4 separate regions of the Homo sapiens genome follow, and regions 1, 3 and 4 are each linked to region 2. The links are contacts of gene promoters, found by promoter capture Hi-C in human tissues and cell types (Jung and others, 2019). All regions are on one chromosome and are shown on one strand. The core of a region is centred on a gene start or on the middle of the fragment in contact, and the rest is flanking DNA. Distances in the headings are between cores, read along the strand shown.

Region 1 (3,258 bases), core at 328-2,827, 33 kb after region 2:
TGGAAGTCAACTTCAACCAGGCTTTGGAACTGTTGCAGCAGGCTAATAGCTCCCAGAAACTTGAGAAATTTGTGGAAAATAACAGGCCAAGGAAGGGCCAAATCAAAAAACCTTGAGTTGTGATTTGAGCATTGCACTAAAATGTTATAAGATGTATGGACACAAAAATAAGAAATGCAGCACCTACTATCCTACACCAGGGGCAATTTATAAAGTTAAAGCTAGAAAAGCTGCCATTCATGTTATAGATGTTTCTGAGAGGATGTAGCCATAAGAAGTAAGTGGCTAAAAGAATTCCTAAGGTGGAATGTCTGCCAGGAGTGATGGAAGGAGGCTTGGCAAATGTCCTGGTTGGAGCAGATGGGTGAGCAAGCCATGATTTTCTGGGTTTTAATCCTGAAGCAAGAGTCATATGACCTCTCATTATTGGTGAAGATGACCTAACCTGAGGAGGACAATGAATGAAATGTAACGCCTCCAAGACCATCTAATGGGGCTCACACTGGAGGCTTTGAGCAGATTTAGGGAGCTAGAAGTCATAGTAAAGACACTCCATCTTCGTTAGTCTTTTTATAAGGGTGAACATAAGCAGGATCCAAATCCCAAGCATGGGCCCACAGAGAGCTCTTCTTGGAGACTGGGCACCAATTTGCCTCCAGGGCAAGCAGGTTTCCTGCAATGAGAGATTTTAAGAACTCAACATGGATGAGTCCACATGAGGGTCACCCCTGTCTGCCTAGCCAAACTGGGAGGACTGGACATGATTGGTGTTTACTTCTATCGTGGAGAAGAGGAGCATCTAGTGATAGTTTCCACCCTGAGGGTATTTAATACTAAATCATCTTTCTTTACCCGAGGAATGGGGACTGGAGGAGAGGACTAGAAAGTCTCCAAATGGGGAAGGGGGAGGGAGAGTGTCATTAAATCCTAAATGTAATATGTTGGCCATCAGGGAGTTCTCCCATTCTCTGCCTACAATGTTTGCAGAGAGGACAATGATGAATTTTGGTGGAGGAAGCTAAGCTTGAACTTCTTTGCGAAGTGCCTGACAGGAATTTTGATCTACCCAGTATACATTAGAGAAGTTGGGGGGCAGCAGATGTAAAGTGTAATAGACACATAGGCTCAGCTCTTTTTGACACATGGATATTCATGGCCTCCCACCCACCTCCTCCCCAGTCAAGGAAAATTCTGGCAATGCCATTTTGGTATTTACTACTTTCCTGGAGCTCCATGGCTTTATTATGCAGTGAGAAGAATCTTATAAGCAGAGATGGGATATCTGTTAGAAGGGAACTGTGGAGAAAGGAGCTTTCTCTCAGGAGTAAAGACGGAGGAGTAGTAGGTAAGAGGAGAGTGGTTAGGAAAAGAGAACAATTAGTGTTTGCACTTTGGAAACACCCTAGAGAAATTTCAGGCATAAAAACAAAAAGAGGGGAAGTGGAGCAGGAGGATAGCTTTGGGGACTAAAAGAGGCAAAGAATGAAAGAAAAATAAGGAGTCAATTTTCACTTTTGATAGCTAGATTACAGTCCTTTGAATGCGATAGTCCACAATGATAAAGCTTTATGAACCTCAGGATTTACTAAAACTATGGCTTTCTATCTCATAGCAAAAAAAGGTAGAAAACCCACCATCCAACCTAGGAACTCAACCTCTACCAGTTAACTTCCCCCAGCATTTACACTTACTTCCAGGATTACATCATTCTGATTTCAGAAGTTGGATAGACCAAGGCTGAGTTTCAGTGTCTGTGGGGTCTGCTGACTTATGGTTCATCCTTATTCCTAATGTGAGTCCTTCACAGGCCCTCCCATCCTTAGCCAATCCCTGTCCCCTCAGAAGACAAAGCCCTCATAACCATCACTCAGCCTCTCAACACACCCCTTACCCCTACTCCAGGAACAGTAAATGCCCTCAGGAGAAAAACAGCCCCAAACAACAGGATCACATTCCTGACCTTACAATTTCTCCTAGATCTTGGCCTGATATCCTTCATCATCTTGTATACTTTGATGCCTTCAAGTGTGTAGCTATACATATATTTTAAATTCAGCTTTCCTAGTTGTCTTCATTGGGAGAGGTGGTTAAAATCGTCTAGACCTTCATTAGTGGATGTGGAAGTCTTTTATTATCCCCATTGCAAATATGAGGCACAGAGAAGTTGGGTAACTTACTCAAGTTCACACCGCTGGCAAGTGGCAGATCCCAGAGTCTTCCTGGGATCCAACCCCAGGAAGACTCGTTCTAGTGTTTGTGTTCTCAAACATCTGCTCCTTGCTAGGGTAATATATGTTGCTTTCTGATGATACAAGAACAAATCTTGGAAAATCCTGAGGAATATATTTCTAACATTTTGGCATTTCTCCCAAAGATTTAGTAAAATAGTCCAGGGAATGCCTCACAATCAAAATATTCAAAGGACCAGCTAAGAACTAGAAACTCTCTCTGTGTCTGTCAACAGTGGAAGGTATAAGCAACACATTGAATATTTATACAATGAAATACTACACACTAATAAAAAGAATTGAACTACTGACACATGCAAGATGGATGAACCTAAAATACACTATTTTGAGGGAAAAAAAGTGCCTAATTCTTTTGTGTTATGTGTTACATGCTTATTTTTCCTTTAATTTAAAACTTCTATTTAACAGTTTTATCCAAAGGATTTAGGCAAGTCTCACCTTGCTATCTGATAAACAGTTTCCTTGTGTGATTTGTAACTTTGAATTACAAGTTTATTTTAAGTGAGACTTCATCTATGGGAATCTTTAAGCCAGACTGAGGGTGTTTTCAACAGCAGCTCTGTGCTTGCTTCTGCTAGTATATCCACCCCGCCGCCCCACCATGTACACATCCCGCCGACCCCATTAGCCTTTTTATGAGAATTGTTTTGGTTTAGGTCCTTTTGAGACTATGAAGCTACTGTAAATTCAAACTCCAAGTTGTGTAAGGTCAGACCATTGATTGTGATTTCTTAGGGAAGTCTATTATTTTTCAACACATAGACCAGGCCAAGACAGAAAAGGTTTCTTGAAGTGTCTATGTTCTAGTGAGATTTTTTTATTTCACCAAGGATGTAGCTGGGAATTTTATGTTTCAGTTCCAGCTTTCTAACTTGGCTATAGTCAAGGCTTTTGCATCCTATACCTACACGGACAATAAAACATACTCTCTCTGGTTACCTAAGGGAGCAGCTGCTCTCTCCACCACCACTGGTGGCAGTTCCAATATCAGGTCATATTTATTGACCTC
Region 2 (3,132 bases), core at 244-2,743:
AAATCTGTCAAGGGTCTGAAATTTCCTTGGTTGTAATAACCTATTTGGGTTAAAGTGTTTTCAAGAGACCACTCATAGGCAAATTTTGGTGGACAAAGTTAATATCGGCCCAAGAAGGGGCATCTTCCAAGAGCAGAAACTTTTAAATGAGTCCAAAATAGTAAATAATGATGCAGAATTTTAAGCCCCTCTACTCTCAGTCAACTTCCCTTCCCATGACTTCCCTGGCATTTGTTGAGCTCATTTGGGTTCCAGGCAAAACCTGAGACAAAGTCAAGGCTTGAAAGGGTTGGGGAGAGGCCGTATCCTTCACCCCATTGCCATTTTCAGTCTTCTACATGGATTTGTGGGTGAATCAGTGCTGCCTACCAGAGACCACCTTGGCCAGGATAATTTTATTTCTCCTAATTTAAATATGGAAAACTGATTTTGAGTGATTTTGTTGTAGACTAAAGAAGAAATCAGGGAGGAAGGCTAATTCTCTCCCCCTGCATATTTTCTGCCTTTTTGTCTTTATCACCATCAATGAGTACCCACAATACCGATTGCCTTTACTAACAGCCATAATGTTAGATGGATGAGACTGAGTGTAGTGTAGTGAAGGCACTCCTCTCTTGCTCCAGCAAATAAACCATTTTTGTAACTGCTATAAAAAAAAACCCTTTGAAATGATTTTATTTCTTGTTTTTATTACAAACAGAAAACATAAACCATGTCACCCACCATCTTGTGCTTTGAAATATGAAAGTCAAAGGAAAACTAATTTGGGAAGAGAGATGAAGTGCTTTGAAGGAGAGATGAAACAGCAAAGTTGAAAGATTAATGCTGCATAGACAAATTGAAATCTAAAGTGAAAGTTTAGACAACAGTAATCAAAATGAATGATAACACGAAAAGCCAGCAGGAAGAAAACATTTGAGCCAACAATCCAGTCTGGTTCATCCGGATAAGATGGTTATCTGGCATTTAATGCTGTTTCCTACACCATGAACATAAGCATTTACTGTCATACTAAGAAAAAGAAAAGTCATCCGAATTTATCGCTATTTTTACATGTAGTTAAATTAATTGTTGTCATATTTCCAAGTGAAGTAACATAGGTTTGGCTTTTGCAGTCAGTTCCTCAAGATTCACAGGCTTGGAATATTTTTTAACAATTTAAAGGCCCAAGATTTCTTACAGCCCCAAGAACTTTTCCCTCTCTACTAAGCACAAATCTGAACAAATAATTACACACCACCAACGTAAAACTAGGAGATCTTATTTTGGTACGGTCTTTGTGTAATTTTAAAACATGATTTTAAAAAATAAATTTTCTTACCTGGAAAATGCTGCAATATTATCAGCCAAAGTTTCTTCATCATTTGCCCCAGACCTGTAATAGTCATATATAGACTTTGGAAGTACTGATTTAGCATGTTGTTCATAATCATTGATACAAATTAGCCGGGGGAGCATTTTCACAGGTTATTGCTATCCCAGATGGAGTTCGTTGTTTTTTTTTTTTTAATGTATTGCTTTCTACATCCTCACTGTTCTGTTATTTGTCAATTATTAATAGACTTTTGCCAAAGTTCAGATTTAGTTCTCTGTTGCTTACATCAAGTGAGCAAACATTATATGCTTAGCCTTTGAAATTTCATTTGTAGGCTATCTGCCAAAGAACACCGAAGTCACTATCTGCCAAAGAACACCAAAGTTGAGGTTGGGAAGGCAGCAGAAGGTGATTAGGTGTCTATCACATTAAAAAGGGGAAAGGAATAAGTAAAAAATTAAAGACTTAGAGGAATACCTGTATGAAACCACTCTTGGTTCAGTTTTGCCTAAGGCTGCTTATTGCACATGGTCTGTGCCTGTGCTCTTTGCTTGATACCCAGAATAGGCTGCCCACTCATTTTCTTTCCACATTTGGATCATGCACAAATCATGTAAACAAGAGCTTATGAACTGAACGGGGCATCCATGAAATATGGGGCATCCGTGAAATTCAGGGCTTCTGCACAATATAAAATTTAGCTGATTACAAACATAGACATTTGGCTTTAACATGGAACATTAAGGCCAAATTGACAGCTAATTGTTTTATTCATTCTGTATATTTGAGGTTTACAACATGATATTATGAGATACATATACACAGAAAAATGGTTACAGTAGGGAGGCCAATATAATATATGTATCATCTCACCCGTAATTACTTTTTTGTGTGTATGACAAGAACAGCTAAAATCAACTTATTTAACAAAAATTCCTAATATGATACAATTTTATTAACTTTAGTCCTCATTTTGCACGTTTGCTCTCTAGACCAGGGGTCCCAAACTCCCCAGCATGGACTGGTACTGGTCCGTGGCCTGTTAGGAACCAAGCTGCACAGCAGGAGGTGAGCAGCCGGTGAGCAAGCTTTACAGACTGAGCTCCGCCTCCTATTGTGAACTGCACATGCGAGGGATCTAGGTTGCGCCACTCCTTATGAGAATCTAATGCCTGATGATCTGAGGTGGAACAGTTTCATTCCAAAACCATCCACCTACCCCCACTGCCCATGGAAAAATTGTATTCCACAAAACTTGTCCCTGGTGCCGAAAAGGTTAGGGACCCTGTTGTAGATTTATGTATCCTACGTGTCTACTATTTTGTATCCTTTGACCTATATCACCCCTTTTCCTCTTCCCTGCTTCCCACTAGTGGTATTCACTGTTTCATTCTCTAGCTCTGTGCATTTGAAGTCTTTTTTAAAACAAAATCCCACCTATAAGTGAAATAATGCAATAATTTCCCTTTTGTGCCTGGCTTATTTCACTTAGCATAATGTTCTCTGGGTTCTACTGCAAATGACAGGATTCCCTTCTCTTATAAGGCTGAATAATATTTCATTGTGTGTATATCTATACATTTCCCTTATCCATTTGTCTCTTAATGGGCATTTAGGTTTACCATTAATTCTTTTTTTTTTTCTTTTTGAGATGGAGTCTTTCTCTGTCTCCCAGGCTGGAGTGCAGTGGTGTGATCTCGGCTCATTGCAGCCTCTACCTCCCAGGTTCAAGAGATTATTCTGCCTCAGCCTCCCAAGTAACTGGGACTACAGGCATGTCCACCACGCCTGGCTAATTTTTGTATTTTTATTTAGTA
Region 3 (3,021 bases), core at 521-3,020, 47 kb before region 2:
TGTTGAGCATTTTTTCATATGTTTGTTGGCCATTTGTATATCTTCTTTTGAGAATTGTCTATTCATGTCTTTAGTACACTTTTTGATCAGATTGTTTGTTTTTTTTCTTATTTGTATGAGTTCGTTGTAGATTCTGGATATTTGTTTTTCATCAGATGTATAGATTGTGAAGATTTTCTCCCATTCCATGGATTGTCTATTTACTCTGCTGACTTCATTTTGCTGTGCAAAAAGCTCTTTAGTTTAATTAACTCCCAGCTATTTCTCTTTGTTTCTATTGCATTTGCTTTTGGATTCTTGGTCATGAAATCATTCCCTAAACCAATGTCTAAAAGGGTTTTTTCAATGTTATCTTACAGAATTTTTATAGCTTCAAGTCTTAGGTTCGGTTATTGTTTTTTAAAAAACGGTCTCAGGGAACAAACTCAAAAGCCCTTCTAGACGTGTCCATATTCTCTCAGCGAGAGGGAAATAAGCAACACCATTTGGCTATTTTTCCCTTAAAATCTAGTTAGATTTGATTTCAGTAGATTTATATTTAATTTTTAGAAAACAATTTGGCCCGCCCACTAAGTCTACATCTCCATACACAAGTGAGTCATGAATCTGAGAAAAAGCTTTGTGCTGTGACCAACCTCTCCACCCTACTCAGAGGAGGTCTTCACTTTCCACGTCTGTTTACCTGCAACCAACATTTAATATCACCTAGAACAGTGTGTCTCTGGGAGCAAAACTGAGTTGCAAAGAGCTGACAACTTCCAGTTTTCATTACTTTTCATCTTTTGTTTGTTTGTTTTGTTTTTTGAGACAGAGTCTCACTCTGTTGCCCAGACTTGAGTGCAGGGGCATGGATCTCGGCTCACTGCAACCTCCAACCCCCTGGTTCAAGCAATTCTCCTGCCTCAGCCTCCCAAGTAGCTGGGATTACAGGAGTGCACCACCATGCCCAGCTAATTTTTGCATTTTTAGTAGAGACGGGGTTTCACACATCGGCCAGGCTGCTCTCGAAATCCTGGCCTCAAGTGATCCACTTGCCTTGGCCTCTGAAAGTGCTGGGATTACAGGCGTGAGCCACCACTTGACTGTATAATCCTACAATATACAAAGACTTACTTGGTTCCTACCATTAGTGCTTTAGGAAAAACTCAACGCAATATGCACACCCAATATTCCCTGCCATCATTTACTCCGCCATCACAGCCACACAATTGGTCTATGAATGTCACTAAATCAACCTGCTAGTTCAGTGAAACAACAGACCACTACTAGTTGGCTAAAGTATTTGTTCTACTCTTTTTCCAGTTGTGTGGATAAATTCAAATGGTCATCCCAATTCCAACCATCTATATAATAACTACCACTGAAGGGTTCCGATAAAAGGGAAAATATTTATATAAGAATCCAGTTCTGAGAGAGGTGGTGGTCTGGAAAGTTCACCCACATTACTTAGTAGATAGATAGATAGGTAGATAGATAGTAAATATATATATATGACAAATATATATATTACTTAGTAAATATGCATAGATATATAAAGTTTTGTTATATGATGCTAGTTACTTTGCCTGTGTAAATCACATTATGAAATATTACAGTTGAAAGGTTTAAATTTTAAAAGATGAAGAAACCAAGATAGGGAGCAGAAAGCAATTCCCTCTGTCCTTCTGCAGTTCAGGCCCTCCTTCTCTCTTTTCTTGGCTATGGTAATTTTAAAGACTACCTCATTGGCCTTTCTGCCTCTTGTCATGACAAAATCCACTTTATGAGACTCATTGCTGCTAAGCCAAGGCTCTTCTATTGCACACCCAATGACTCATAATAGTCAAGGATCTCCTTCCTTATCTATCCAGGCAGATGCATTTCCCAAAACTCTCCCACTCCCACTGAAACCGCCTTTGCAAAAATTATAACTGAGAAAAATATGTCAGTGAAAGAGATCTCGCCTAACTGACTCCATCTTGATTCTAACGGCCAAGCTTTCCTTGTTCATTGCTGAGTGTAGGCCAGACTAACTTTGGGAGAAACTTAGTTCATACTTCAATTTTGAAACAAAGATGATAACAGCTCTTTACCAAAGCAAAACCCCATTCCTGCCTGGGGACTAGGCTGCCTTTGCAGGACTAACAAATTAGTCACAAGATTAGAAATTATGGTTTAGGAGTCATGCAGCTGTAGGCTACAAGATTCTGAACCTCCCCAAATTGCTCCTGGGGATAACGTCACCATTGTAAAACCGAAAAGCAATGCTTGAGATGTTTTGCAGACCCTGTACCTGGATCAGTTGGCACCACTGTCTGATAAACTGGTTCATCTGGTATTGTGGCCTTCAACCAGGAACTGACTCAGAGCAAGAGGACAATTCGACTCTCTATGATTTTTATCTCCCACCTGACCAATCAGCACTCGCCACTTTCCAACCCCTTCCCCACCAAATTATCCTTAAAAACCCTAAAACCCAGTTTTTCAGAGAGACTGATTTTAGTAATAATAAAACTCCAATCTCCCAGTACAGCTGGCTCTGCGTGAATTAAACTCTTCCTCTATTGCAATTCCCCGTCTTGATAAATTGGCTCTGTCTATACAGTGGACAAGGAGAAACGGTTGGGCAGTTACAGCATCAGACACTGCAAACAAGATGGATTATTTAGTATTCCCTGAGCACATCTCACTCTTTCCCATTTTACTCTTAGGCTTATCACACTGCAAAGAGGGTCCACATGGGGCCAGAGCAGAAGCAAAAAATATCTGCAACATCATTGCTCCATCTACAAGAGGCTTGGCCAAATCCCCACAAGTGGACAGCACATAAGGGAACCACTTGATAGCACCCCACCAACGGCCCCCGGCCCCCATTCTGGATCATGGATCCATAAAATCCACCCCAGGAAATGTGTCCCTCTCCATGGCTTCGGATCCATTTCTGGACCCCCAGTCTCTGATCTTAAAATCTGCCCTAAGTGCCTCTGTCGGTTTTCTTGGCTTTAGGATCTTCAGGGTCTAATTGCTCTTCGATACAGTTGT
Region 4 (2,892 bases), core at 294-2,793, 51 kb after region 2:
GTCCTTGAAGTTTTGCTTTATATATGTTTCCAAAGGAATAGCTTATTAAATAAAATCCAATTCAGTTTTAGATCATTGTGTTTCTGTTTCTTTAACTACCAGGCAAAGTGACAGTTTTCACTTGTGGAAAATACTGATCCTTATTCAATATTATATGTGCTTACCACAAGGAAATATCCCATGCTGTTCGCTGAAAATGCACAAAAATGTAAACTGATGGGCATGATACCTTATACTATGGTACTAGATGAATAAGAAAGTATCTTACTCGGGCTGGGCGCGGTGGCTCACACCTGTAATCCCAGCACTTTGGAAGGCCGAGGCGGGTGAATCACGAGGTCAGGAGTTCGAGACCAGCCTGGCCAATATGGTGAAACCCTGTCTCTAACAAAAATACAAAAATTAGTGGGGCTTGGTGGCAGGCGCCTGTAGTCCCAGCTATTTGGGAGACTGGGGCAGGAGAATTGCTTGAACACGGTAGGCGGAGGTTGCAGTGAGCTGAGATCGCCCCACTGCACTCCAGCCTGGGTGACACAGTGAGACTCTGCCTCAAAAAAAAAAAAAATCTTAGTCTGTTCACTGAAAATGCACTAAAATGTCATCTGATGGGTGTGACACCTTATACTATCATAGTACATGATTAAGTTAGAGCTAACTTTTGGCTACATACATATTTGAGTGAGAAGATGAAATTAAAACATCATTACAACAGAATAAATGAGAAGAGCATTCTAATCAGTGGTCAGACAGACTTAAGGAAGACAGCCAAGCCAAGGCCTCCATGCATCTGAGGTAGAGCCTTCCCTCCCCAGAAAGGCAAGCACTCCCTCTGGAAGTCTAAACTACTGCAGGTTGGATTAAATACTACTTAGTCACACCCACTCATCCAGCCCAGTGTTGCAGAGTCTCATTCAAACCTAGACTGGCCCTGAAGGACAGAGAGCCTTTGGATTTAGAGTTCACCTGTGTCATAGGATATACTCTCTGAGGAGTTCTGGAACAAGCCCTTTATCTCTTTCAGACACAGATCAGAATCCCCAAAATATCTTCCCTGCAAGGAAACAGCTAGAAAAGACTCTTCAATGATGGCCAAGGGTTCACCTCTTTCATGCTTTAGCTCTTAGCACTTGTAACAAAACATAACCTTGCAGCCTCTTGTAGGATCTATGAAAGGTACCTTACAGATGTGCACCACTGTCTCACTATAACATTCTACAAAACATTCTAAACATTTTTATACGAAAAAAACATTGAGAAGAGGCATGCTATGTAAATCACAGAAGAATGTTTTCAAGTTTTAAAATACACTTTGTTCTTCTCTAGTCTAAATGTTCATGGCTTTTAATTCTCATCATCAGATATTTTAAATAAAGCCTTAAGTTTTCTGTCACGTCATTCTAATAAAAAGGGAAGGTAGCATCCATCACACAGATTGTCCTCCCAAGGATGTAGCACATCTTATTTTAGCTAAAATCTGCCATATGCCTACATCCTCTCAAAACGACAGTAACATTTAGGAAAGGGAAGTTACATCCTATATTATCAGTGAGCAGCAGAGATTCAACAAATCCAATAAAAAATGCTTTAAATACATTTAAATGCTAAACTTAGTTCGCAAAAGCATATACAGGTTGAGTATCCCTTATTCCAAATGCTTGGGACCAGACAGCCTTCAGATTTCTGATTTTTTCAGATTTTTGCATTACACTTACCAGGTGAACATCACAAATCCAAAAATCGGAAATTCAAAATGCTCCAGTGAGCACTTCCTTTAAGTGTCACGTTGGTGCTCAAACAGTTTCAGATTATGGAGCATTTTGGATTTTGGATTTTTGGATTTGGGGATGCTCAACCTATATGCTGAGCAACTGCCACGGAACCCTATTTTAAGCCTGCTATCAGCATTGGCTAAAAAAATTAACAAAAGTTAAAGTATTCCACGTTGGCTATAAAGAGAAGGAAAAAGTAAAATAATGAAGACAATAATGATTAATACATATAACTAACAAAAAGCAATTATCAAGCACATTAACTAGGTACCAGATTCTGCACTAGGCACTCAAAGGGTTCTAGGAACAAGTCTATGGCTGGAAAAAAAAAAAATAGGATTCAGGGGCCTACACATAAGGTGTGAAACAATGATGTGTTTCTGGAAGAGAAGGATAGTGCCACTCTGTAGCACTGTAGCCAACTGTGAAAAGAGGGAAGACAGAAGACTGGACAGTCTCTCTCCACACATGTGCCACACACAAAACCCAAGAACTTCTAATCCTAACTATGCCACCAGACTTGGCAGTGATGCTTCCTGAAGTTCAATCTTCTGCACATTGCTTTTATGATATTCACCTCACCTTGTACTATCCATTAGAGTATTAACATTTTTCATTTAGTCACTAAGTTGCATACAATTTTAAAGAAATTGGATATTGCTACTATAATATAAAATCAAAATCAATTTTGTCCTTTGAAGATGTCAACTCTCTGAGAAACTCCTCTAACTGTCCCATCTCCTAGGCCTCAGTGACTCCATCTGTGAGATGGGTAAAATGTTGAGACTATTTGTGAGGATAGATATTAACAGCTAATGAGGTAATTACTTCTGTGAGTTTATATAAAAATTAAAATATGCAGGTGAGCGCCATCATGAGTGAATTGGAAAGAAAATTTAAATTTAGTGATGGAAAGAACACTGGAGATCATCTACTCTTGTCCATATTGTGGTATGAATGACATATCGAGGATCCCTGGGATTCAGGGTAACAGCAGGAAGCTGACAGGAACTGCCTCATAAGACTATTCAAGGGACTTTCTCACCTCAACAGTTTACTCAAGCAAGAACATAGGGGAGGTTGGTATGAAGTTAAGAAGGCCAAATGCAAACCAAACCAACTC

The links. The method cuts DNA at HindIII sites, captures the fragments that hold promoters and counts their contacts. A contact is called where the count stands out against the background at its distance.
Region 1: a contact is called between a fragment that was not itself captured here and the fragment with the promoter of HAO1 in region 2, in 3 of the 25 tissues and cell types used here (H1 embryonic stem cells, dorsolateral prefrontal cortex and pancreas).
Region 3: a contact is called between a fragment that was not itself captured here and the fragment with the promoter of HAO1 in region 2, in 2 of the 25 tissues and cell types used here (aorta and hippocampus).
Region 4: a fragment that was not itself captured here is called in contact with the fragment with the promoter of HAO1 in region 2 in 3 of the 25 tissues and cell types used here (H1 embryonic stem cells, hippocampus and liver).

Annotation. Positions count from the first base shown.
Region 1 is chr20:7,971,754-7,975,011 of GRCh38, forward strand. No RefSeq gene overlaps it. Among named protein-coding and RNA genes, the nearest start is that of HAO1, 33 kb to the left of the region's middle. The HindIII fragment of the contact is 4,514 bases long and covers 1-3,258 here.
Region 2 is chr20:7,938,965-7,942,096 of GRCh38, forward strand. It overlaps HAO1 (hydroxyacid oxidase 1), which reads right to left and starts at 1,494. Exons shown (of 8, transcript NM_017545.3): 1 at 1,322-1,494. The coding sequence starts at 1,458. The HindIII fragment of the contact is 11,188 bases long and covers 1-3,132 here.
Region 3 is chr20:7,891,299-7,894,319 of GRCh38, forward strand. All of the region lies in intron 5 of HAO1 (hydroxyacid oxidase 1), which reads right to left. Among named protein-coding and RNA genes, the nearest start is that of HAO1, 48 kb to the right of the region's middle. The HindIII fragment of the contact is 4,901 bases long and covers 1-3,021 here.
Region 4 is chr20:7,989,744-7,992,635 of GRCh38, forward strand. All of the region lies in intron 5 of TMX4 (thioredoxin related transmembrane protein 4), which reads right to left. Among named protein-coding and RNA genes, the nearest start is that of TMX4, 29 kb to the right of the region's middle. The HindIII fragment of the contact is 6,623 bases long and covers 1-2,892 here.